Regions from separate parts of the Homo sapiens genome. Here region 2 is linked to region 1. Evidence: promoter capture Hi-C in human tissues and cell types (Jung and others, 2019). All regions are on one chromosome and are shown on one strand. The core of a region is centred on a gene start or on the middle of the fragment in contact, and the rest is flanking DNA. Distances in the headings are between cores, read along the strand shown.

Region 1 (5,258 bases), core at 1,471-3,970:
TTACTTTTGCACCAACCTAACAGTTAGACCGTTGTCTTTGCAAAACAAACAAACAAGCAAACAAACAAAATTAGCCAGGCATGGTGGTACAGCCTGTGGTCCCCAGCTACTTGGGAGGCTAAGGTGAAAGGATTTCTTGAGCCCAGGAGGTTGAAGCTGCAAGTGAGCCATGATGGCCTCACTGAACTACTCTGGGTGACAGAGACAGGGATACCCTGTTCTCCCTTGCACGACCTCACCCCCACCCAGCCCTGCCCTGCCGAAACACACACACACACACACACACACACACACACACACATACACCAGAGAGAGAGAGAGAGAGGGAAATGCATGAGGTTAACTTTATGAAAAAATATAGTTCCCCAACCAAGTCTCTTTGTAATTTGATGGTGGAGGTTAATTGCCTATCTAAACAAAGTGTGTGAATTGATGGTGGGGGTCTAGTGGAAATTTAGAAAGGGAGAGTTCTATAAACAAACTTTGATGCTTCCGTACCCAAGTATCTATTGAAACATACTATATGGAGGGAAAAAAATCGGGGATAATTTGGCCAGTTAGTGAAGAACATATCTAAGATTCAAATACACTACACCATTTTGCTTCACTGAAAATGTTGCATAGCTTCATTCAATTCATTACCTTAGCAAGTATTTATTAAATGCCTTTTATGCTCAAGGCATTTTGCCAAGGGCACTGTGGGATACATGATTAATCAGACGTTTTGGAGTAATGGAAAGAGATGTACTTTGGCATCATACTGATGAGTTTGAATTCCAGCTTCTTGGAAACATTACTCTTTTAACTGCAGTTTTTAAGTTTGTAAAATGAAGCAGTTAGAAAAAGGAAATGCATCTCTTGGTGACCAGCACACAGGAGGTGCTCAATAAATTGAGTTTTTCTCTCCCCAACTCCACTTTGAGGCATTTGCTAGAAGGTAAGTGATCAGGGAATTCACCATAGAAAGGGAGGGTGATTGGTTTAGGTCATGAGATGGATTTAGACTGGTCAAGAAGTGAGAGACAGTAAAGGTAGTAAGTGTGTGGACTTTACTAGATCTTGTGAGTAGATCTTATCTAAACGTGCCGGCACACGTTTACAGAGAGGGGGAAAAGCAGGAGCTGTAACCATCAGGTTGCCTGCTATTTTAGTCCACTCGGGCTTCTATAATGAAATATCATAAACTGGGTAGCTTATAAAAAGAGAAATTCATGTCCCATAATTCCAGAGGTTGGGAAGTTCAAGATCAAGGCAGATGTGGTATCTGATGAGAGTCTACTTTCTAGACAGCAGTCTTTTTACCATAACCTCACTTGCTGGAAGGGGTGAGGGATCTTTCTGAGGTTTCTTTTTTTAAAAAAATTATTTATTTAATGTATTTAACTAACAAATAATAATTGTATGTATTTATGAGGTATCATGTTACATTTGTATGTGTCGTGAAATAATTAAATCAAGTTAACATATTCATCACTTTAACATGATTTGTCCTGAATGGAATCCCATTCATGAGGGCTCCACCCTTATGATCTAATCACCTTTCAAAGGCCCAACCTTCTAATATTATCAACTCCAGCTTTAGCATTTTAACACTCAGTTGGGGGTATAATCCTAGCACTTTGGGAGGCCCAGGCGGGAGCTCAGGAATTGGAGACCAGCCTGGACAATATAACGAGATCCCGTTTTTGCTAGGCATAGTGCCGCTCCCCTGTGGTTCCAGCTACTCGGGAATCTGAGGTAGGAGGGTAGGATGATCACTTGAGCCCAGGAGGTGGAGGCTGCAATGAGCCAATGGTGCCACTGCACTCCAGCCTGGGTGACAGAGTTAGATCCTGTTTCCAAAACAAAACAAAACAAAACAAAACAAAACAAAACACCACAACATTCAGATCATAGCATCTGCCTACTTGTAAAATCGCCTTTCAGTGCAGTGTTGGTTCCTACAAACATACAATATAATGACTTTAGCTTGAAATTAAGGCATCTTCTCTGACTGCATTACAAACAGGCAAGTTTTTTCATATCGATTCACTCAACACCTTTTATTTATCCAGATAATATCTAGGATCACGCTTAATATCTAAGTGCTAGAATCTAATTATATAGATATCAAAAGGCATTAAGTTTTTCAGAAGACAGACATACAATTTTAATGTTTAGAGGTGATAGAGACACCTATAGCAGCACCAAAGAAGAAACGATTTTCCATTTAAGATTTTAGGCAGTTTAACTCTAAAATATGAAAATAGGCACATCTCACAGACTATAAAACTATACGCCATTTTAATTTTTACAATGTCAATTCTAACTGCGAATTTTAGCAACGCTTCAGTGTGAAGACAGCAGAGAAAAACACTGAAAATGCGTGATTGAATTCTTATTGAGTCACTCTTCTCGGAAATCAGTCCTCCCCATTTTCTCCTTAAAAAATAGAATCCTGGAGATAGTCTAGTGCTGGCTTTTCGAGGAACACACTACAGGGGACACAAGGAGAGGAACACGGATGCCGCAGTTTTCCAAGTGCAGCTTGCCCCTCCCACGTGATAGGTTTCTGGCATCGCCCCTCCTTGCTGGCGATTCTGGGGAAGATTTTAACGCTCCCTGGAGCCGTCCCCAGTGACGTCACGGGCGCGGCTCCGCTCCTTGGCCAATCACGCGGCCGGATCCCGGGGAAACCCGGGGCGGTGGCGGCGGCCTGGGCGCGTGCGCGAGGTCTCCGCGTGGCTATATAAACATGGCTGGCGTGGCCGCGCGGCGGGGCCGTGCCAATCGCGCGTAGGGGGCTGTGGGCACTCGGGGTTCGTAGTTTTGAAATTTCTGGCGGGGGAGCAGCTGCGCAGTTAGGCTCGAGGTGTGAGCGACGACCTTCCGGGAGCCGCAAGTCCAGGCTCCCCCGCAGCGGGACCCGAGCCTGAGGCGCAGGGCTGAGGCAGCGCACGTGTGAGCGCCGCTGAGGAAGCTGCGAGAGGTCGGGCGGGTGTCGCTCCGGGGGCAGCCCAGGCTCGCGCGGACGAGAGGAAGGTCCGGGACGCGCGTGTCCTGCCGTGCAGCGGGCGCCCGTCACTGACTTCGCTGCTGCGGCCCCCGCGCCTCTCCCCAGCGATGCTGTGGAACCCGAACCGCACCGGAGTCGGCTGCCGCGCGCCAAGCCTCCCCTCACCTCTGCTCCCGGAACCGCAGCGCCAAAGCTGCCGCTGAGCCCCTGGGGGATGCCCGCCGGCCTCACCGAACCCGCCGGCGCCGCTCCCCCGGCTGCTGTGAGCGCCTCGGGGACCGTGACCATGGCCCCGGCCGGGGCGCTGCCGGTGCGGGTGGAGAGCACTCCGGTGGCCCTGGGCGCCGTGACTAAGGCTCCTGTCAGCGTCTGCGTGGAGCCCACGGCGTCCCAGCCCCTGCGGTCCCCCGTGGGGACCCTGGTGACCAAAGTGGCTCCGGTCAGCGCCCCTCCTAAAGTCAGCAGCGGCCCTAGGCTGCCTGCTCCTCAGATAGTCGCCGTGAAAGCCCCCAACACCACGACAATCCAGTTTCCTGCTAATTTGCAGCTTCCTCCAGGTATGTTGATAACCCTTTCCAGCCTTGTCTGTCGGTCCAGCTGGCGGCGACGGGAAAATTCGCAGCTCCAGATTGCTCCTAAAAAAACTGAGCCACGGGAACATTTCATAATCTTGACTTTACAGTTAACATATTCTTTTTGTGTCATTACTACATAGTTTTTCTTTTCATATTTAAGGAAAGAATCTTTTCACCTAAGTGATACAGTAAAAAGCTACATCAGCGTATTCGGGGGGGCTTTCAGGCACTGGCTCTTAGGTGGAGGAGATAATATAGCCGAAGTTAATTTCCATGTGGAGGATGGACCGGTTTATACCGTGGATTTCCATACGCTTAGATTATGTAGAAGTGCGTTGTACTTATTTTATTAATTATGAATGAATGAATGAACGAATGAGGTATGGTTTCGCTCTGTCGCCCAGTCTGGAGTGCAGTGACACGATCATGGCTCACCGACGTCGAACTCCTGGGCCCAATCGATCCTCCCGCCTCGGCCTCCCAAAGTGCTGGGATTACAGGCGTGAGCCACCGCGTACGGCCTAACAGTGAAGTTCTTGTGTATTACAACTGAAAGAGATTTTTAAATTTAACCAAGTCAGAATCGGTTTACTGCTTTCTAGTACCAAGTACGAATAATGCTGTTCCTGCACAATCTTTAAATGTCTTATGATTCTAACTTTCAATTAGCAGAACCCCTGACTGGGAACACGTGCCACAGTTGACAAACAGATCAGTCATGCAATTGTTACAGTTGCAATTGAAGCCATGTGTCAACGCTACTGTTAATGAGTCTTTCACTACTTTCTATCCTAGGGCTTTTTACTCTATTGGGCTGTATTTCATGGTTTGTATAAAGGTTTTGCTTTGTGATAATTTACATATTGTAAATATGCTGAATGATTTTGGGGTGTTCAGCCTTTCTTTACTGAAAGTCTCTTGGAGTTTGCTTTCTGTTAATTTTGTTTAGCAGTAATTGGAACTCTGAACTGCAAAGATGGTAAAAAAGGGGAAGCATTGATTCAAAAGATTCTATATCCCCTAATAAAATGACAGGGACCCTTTTTGTATCTAATGTTGTAGTTAGTCATACACGTTGTGGATAGATTTCACTTTTTATGAAGTTCTGTTTCAGTTTTATATGGTATACAAGGTATGTAAAATTGTTAAGGCACTGTTACGGCAGTGTGCAGCACCGAATACATTATTTGGCAGTTCTAAATTGTTATTCTGAGTTGTTATTCTGCATATATGTTTATAAAGTAGTTCTGAATGTGTTAGAATGAAATTACCCCCTAATTTGTTAAACTGTAAATCCTGTCTAGTCACTGAAGTTTGTTTATAAATAGTCAAAAAAAAAAAGTATTAAGAAAGAACTGTCTGAGAGGCTAAGGCACGAGAATCGCTTGAACCCGGGAGGTGGAGGTTGCAGTAAGCCAAGATATCTTGCCACTGCACTCCAGCCCAGGCAACAGAGTGAGACTCTGTTCCTCCCCATCCCTCCCCAACCCCCCAAAGAAAGAACTGTCAAGAGTGAAAATTTGCTGGTAAGTGAGAGTGAATCACTTACTGGAGGATTGGGGCCTTATCATGCTAAGCACTTTTAACAAATTATTTATATTCTTTTATTTGTTGGTCATAATAGGTAGGTAGCAAATAAGGAAAGAGGTCTCTAAGAGTAAATAATTTGTCCAATGCCAGGCAACCCA
Region 2 (5,258 bases), core at 852-3,351, 1.0 Mb before region 1:
AGAAAAGTGCAGATTTACTTGGGGAGGGGAGAAGGGGGAAAGTGGCTTCAAAGTTTGGGAGTTTGCCTGCCACACAGATGCCACATTTTGTGAGGCCAGGCTCTGTCTCAGTCTTCTCAGCCCGCCCCTGCCAGCTGACTGATGGCTATCTGCAGGGAGCCACAGGGGGGCCTCCGCCAGGGTGTGAGTGCAGAGACAAGATAAGGAAAATGCAGTAACCCCAAACTGAAGGGAGAAGGATCTCCCTGGGGTTTTCATTTGGATGGATCTCCAGATAGGGGCAGGTAGGGAAGTGGAAAGAGCTTTTAGAAACCAGGTGATAAAGCATAAAGAAATATTAAAATGAGCCATCCTCTGCTCAGCTACTAAGAAATGATGACTTATGAAATGATTTCATTATAAATGAACTTGTTTTTTGTACTCGTCACGGCAAAGAAAGCAGAAAACTACTCTGAAACTAAGGAGAAAAAAAAAAACGCACACATTGATTTTGAAACCCAGAGAGTAGGCCTCAAACTCAGGGATAGTGTCTTTAAACAGAATAATGGGCATGTGGTGCTTAATAAATGTAGGGGATTTTTAAAAATCCTGTTGTGAGGAAGTATTTTCCTCTCTACCCAGAAGACAAAGAAAAACAGTGAGTGTTGACAACATGGCATTAAAAAGCCACCCCTACCCAATTTGTTATCCCCAAATATATATATTCTTTTTAATTTACTCTAAGCCAGCATGGTGGCTCATAGCATCTTACTTTTGAGTCATTATCTCTCTGCCATACACACAAGTCATAGCTGGGGATTTCAACTCACGGTGAAGCTATGCTGAGATTCCAGATCTCAGTAGTGTTGGCATGAGCGCTGGTCTCTTCAGTCATAGAGAAGACAATATCCTAGGGAGACTGGAATTAGTCCTATTTTGCACCATTCAAGCCAAAATGCTGCTTATCAAGAAGCAAGTAATTGCTAGCTAATGGCTATGGGGGAAAAAGAAACCCACTGCATTTCAATCTAAGCATCTTTTGGCCCATGACAATAAATAAAGCTGTGGAGAGTGTAAACATAAAGCAGGGACCGTTTCTTGAGGAGGTTAAATAGCAAACATTAAAAAAGGCGAGTTACCTCATCCGACTGGGAGGGACTGATTCTGGGCATTGGTGATACTTGGGGCGTTTTCAACTGTGTGCTGTTGCTGTCTGGCACGAGCTCTCGGTGGATGGTTTGGATGTGGTTCTGGAGTTCACTTTCAGACTCAAACTTAACGTTGCAGCTAGAGCAGCGTGTCTTCAGTCCCCCCACCTTGCCTTTCCCCTCAATGGCACTCAGATTCTCATTCTGGCCCAAGCCTGGTCTATTCGTGCCGGGAGGGACGTTAATGCCTGGGCTGGCGCTCTTACTGAGATTCACGCAGCCGGCACACAGACCATATGGCAGGCCATTGATATCAAGTTTCACCAGATCTTGCTTGGAACGGAATTCTTTGAGGCAAGATGCGCACTTATACAGTTTTTGGACGTGCTGGCCCCGCCCTGTGGTCTGAACTGCAGACCCATTCCCTGTCTTTTGCATGTGGAACGTCCCATGGATTTTGAGTTCCAAGGTGGAGGTCACTGTCTGCATGCACACCACGCAGCGAAAGCCTGTCAGGGAATTCCTCAAGTCAGGGTGCATTTGGCAATGCTCTAAAAACTCCTCTTCACTCTGGAGAGGCATCTTGCAAATCCGGCAGTTTCCAGTATCAAGACTCTTACTATGCGTGACTTTGTGTTCAGTAAGAGTTAAAAGGGAGGGAAACCGCTCTCCGCAAATAGGGCACATGTAGTGTTTGACAGGGCCTAGGTGGGTCTGCATATGTTCCCGGAGGCCATTTTCGGAGAAGAAGGTTCGAGAGCACACGTTGCACTTGTAATTCCCTTTAATGAGCTCAGCTTTCTTTTTCACGATGGCACTTTCTCCAGGTCTGATGTTGTGGTCTCGGAGCTGGTGATTCTGCAGCAAAGTTTCCATAGTGTAGGCTGCCCCACAAATGTCGCAGCCGTACATAGGCTCAGAGGTGTCAACGTCTTCTTCGCTCCCATCGTGACTGTTGTGGGACTCCTGGCTGTTGGTCAGCAAAGTCTGCAGCTCCACTTCCTCTTTCTGCACTTGCTCGGAAGCTCCATTTGTTCCACAGTTGGGTGTCTTGGTTTCGAATACACAGTGTTTTTCTCGCAAGTGTTTTTCTAACAAAATGATCGCATGGAAGGCTTTGCTACAGAACTTGCAGTTGTACTTCTTACTGTGAGTGGTGATGTGGCATTGCAGCTCCACCTCGGTGCCAAAGGACTCACCGCAGAAAATGCACTTATGCACTTTCCCTTGGTTTTCCAGGTGGTTGTGTTTCACATGGAGCTGCAAGTCAGTTTCGTTGCGGAAGTCCCAGTTGCAAGATGTGCACCTATAGACTTTCTTTTCGTTACTGTGCTTCACAGCCAAGTGGAGCTGAATGGAGACTTTTGAGTCAAAAACTTCCTGGCAGAGGGTGCAGCGAAAGAAGACAAAGGTGTGCATGTCCAGCAGGTGTTTCTGAAGGTCATCCACTGATGTGAATTGCTTGTCACAACTCTCACAGATGTAATACGTTGAAGTGATCATAAAGTGAATGGTAACATGCTTCAGCAAGGATTCTTGGTTGGGGAATTCCTTGTTGCACTGAGGACAGGTCAATTTTGGAAGCACAGTGTCGAGATGAGTTTTTAGGTGAGTCTGAAAGCTGTCTAGGGATGTGTACTTAGCACCACATTGATTACAGATATATTCTCCAGTGGGACGTGCAGGTGCACCTCCTACTGCCTGCATCATCTTAAGAGATGTCTGCTCTATGGCCACAGGAGATAGGGGGCTTAAGGCCCTGGATTTCTTCCCATTGTGGATATAATTCAGGGCCAAGGGAATGTTTTTATGATTCTCTTTGATATGCTTGTTCAGTTTAAGAACGCTGTTGAATATTGGCGAATTTGTACAATAGGAACAAGAATAGACTTCTACTACTGGTTCTTTGGGAGTCCCAAGCACTGGAGACCCAAATCGGGAGCCACTGAGGTCACAATGAACCTGTCTAATATGCTCTTCCAGGGAAGAGTCAGTGAGAAACCCCATATAGCAATGGGGACAAAAGAATGCATTACTATCTTTAGCTGCAGGGTTTGCAAATCCATGAGAACATCGGATGTGTTCCTGAAGAGTGTTGAGGTCGTTGACAACTTCGGAACAGAAGTTACACTGGTAGACAATGGCAGGCATGGCAGAAACAATCAGACCTGGGTCCTGAGCTTCATGCACTTGCTTAAGATGTTCATTTAGGTTATAGAGTGAGGGCAGGACCTCCAAGCAATACTGACAAATATGGGCCTGTTCTGGCTTATCTAAGTGCATAGTTTTCAGGTGAATCTGCAGAACTGCAAGACTTGAAAATAATTGTTTGTTGCAGTAAATACAGCTGTAGGTAACTTTTGCTTGTTTACTCGAGGGACCAGTCATGTCAGGGGTTTGTTGAGCGGCCCTCTTCCTCCCTCGACTCTTTGGGATTGGCGGGGCAGCTTCCACCATGGTTGAGCTGTCCACTGAGAGGTTGGAATCTGGAGTCGTACTGGACACGGAGGTATAGCCCACCGTGACCAGGGAAGGGCTGTTGCTGTGATTGCATGACTCCGGTTGCTGGTGACTGTCCATGTGGCTGTACAGTTCCTCAACTGTGTGGAAACTCTCAGAACAAATGCTGCATGAGTTCTTCTTCTCCCCGCTATGCACCTGCTCCATGTGGTTCATGAGGGAGGTCTCCTCTACGAAGAGCTCGTGGCAGTAGACACACTGGAGGGCCGCTCGGTCCTCATTTGGGGAGCATTCGGGGTGGCACTCTGCAATGTGTTTTTGGAGGTCTTCCGGGAAGTCAAAGCCTTCCTCACACTGACTGCACTTCTGAGTGTCCTTCATCTTCCAGTCCTCCATCCTGGAACCGGACTGAGAGCCGTCCTTGTTCCTCTCATGAACCTGCATGTGTCCGTGTAAGGAACTAGAGGACAGAAACCCACGGCGACAAATGGCACATTTATATGGCTTGTTGGACGTGTGAGTCTTTAAGTGGATCTTCAAGTGATCACTTCTGGAAAACGCAGCATCACATTCACTGCAGTGGTACTTCTTGTCCCCGGTGTGGAGTTTTATGTGGCGATCTCGGCTGCGCTTGTGTTTGAACAGCCTACTGCAGTAGGTGCATTTGAAAGGCAGTTTGTCACTGTGACTCTGCTCATGGTGCTTTAGGTAGCTGAGGCGGCTAAACGACTTGTCACAGAATTGACACGGGTATGGAAGCCCAGGGCCACCTTCTTCCTCTCCAAAATCGCAACCTTCTCCATGGCTAGGGGAAGTCTGATCCTTGCTAGAAGGTGAGGAAGCTGGCCAAGAGCAAGTCGGATCATCTTCAACATCCACTCCATCTGCAACAAGAAGCAATGACAAATTTCATCTGACATGTTGAGATTCAAGAGTGAGTTTACCGTAGCATTTCAACCAGCACGCAGAGTTGGGCCCTCTTGAATCTTTCAAGAAAAAACAAAATGAAAAGAGAGAATATTTGAGTGAGACATTTTCAAATCTGAGCCCAAAGCAGTTATTCTGCATTTACTTTTTGTTGAGTTGTAAAATATAAGAGGATATTAAATAGTTCTATGTCTAAATTACCCTTTTATTACTTTTTATCATTCTTCCTTAGAAGCAAGGTATATATTACACATTGACAATTTTATTAAAATGCAGATTTTAATATATTTAATGTTTCTTTTGTATTCCTTCTAAAATGATTTGCATATTATGTGAGCATCTGAAGAACCAAATGAAAAGAGGAAATATTACGGGAATGATTTAAAATTAATGCAGTCAACCCAGATGTCTAATATTTAATAAAAAATTCCCTCTGCATTTTGCTTGTTTTTATATAAAAAGGCAATTCTGCAGACCAAAATCTGTTACGGGGTTCTTATTGATACAGACCTTATTGCTTTCAGCAAAAAAATATTAAAAAGTAAGCACATGAAAGAAGACAGAAAACACAATAATAATTATGTCTTGTGTAATGAAAGATAACCAGGATTTCTTCAATAACTGAAATTCGAATTCCATAGGCCAGAAAATGGATTATTAAATGTTAGAAGGGTACTGCTAGATATTACATGTAGCTAGGATCAGCTAGGATCAAGAAAAAATGAGAGTTTCACAAGGGCCAGA

What was found. Contacts are between HindIII fragments. The study calls those that stand out against the background at their distance.
Region 2: a fragment that was not itself captured here is called in contact with the fragment with the promoter of TAF4B in region 1 in 1 of the 25 tissues and cell types used here (dorsolateral prefrontal cortex).

Annotation. Positions count from the first base shown.
Region 1 is chr18:26,223,725-26,228,982 of GRCh38, forward strand. It overlaps TAF4B (TATA-box binding protein associated factor 4b), which reads left to right and starts at 2,721. Exons shown (of 15, transcript NM_005640.3): 1 at 2,721-3,552. The coding sequence starts at 3,210. RefSeq lists enhancers at 2,351-2,420, 2,451-2,550 and a silencer at 3,201-3,360. The HindIII fragment of the contact is 12,633 bases long and covers 1-5,258 here.
Region 2 is chr18:25,223,227-25,228,484 of GRCh38, forward strand. It overlaps ZNF521 (zinc finger protein 521), which reads right to left. Exons shown (of 8, transcript NM_015461.3): 4 at 1,119-4,471. Among named protein-coding and RNA genes, the nearest start is that of ZNF521, 130 kb to the right of the region's middle. RefSeq lists an enhancer at 5,144-5,258. The HindIII fragment of the contact is 6,812 bases long and covers 1-5,258 here.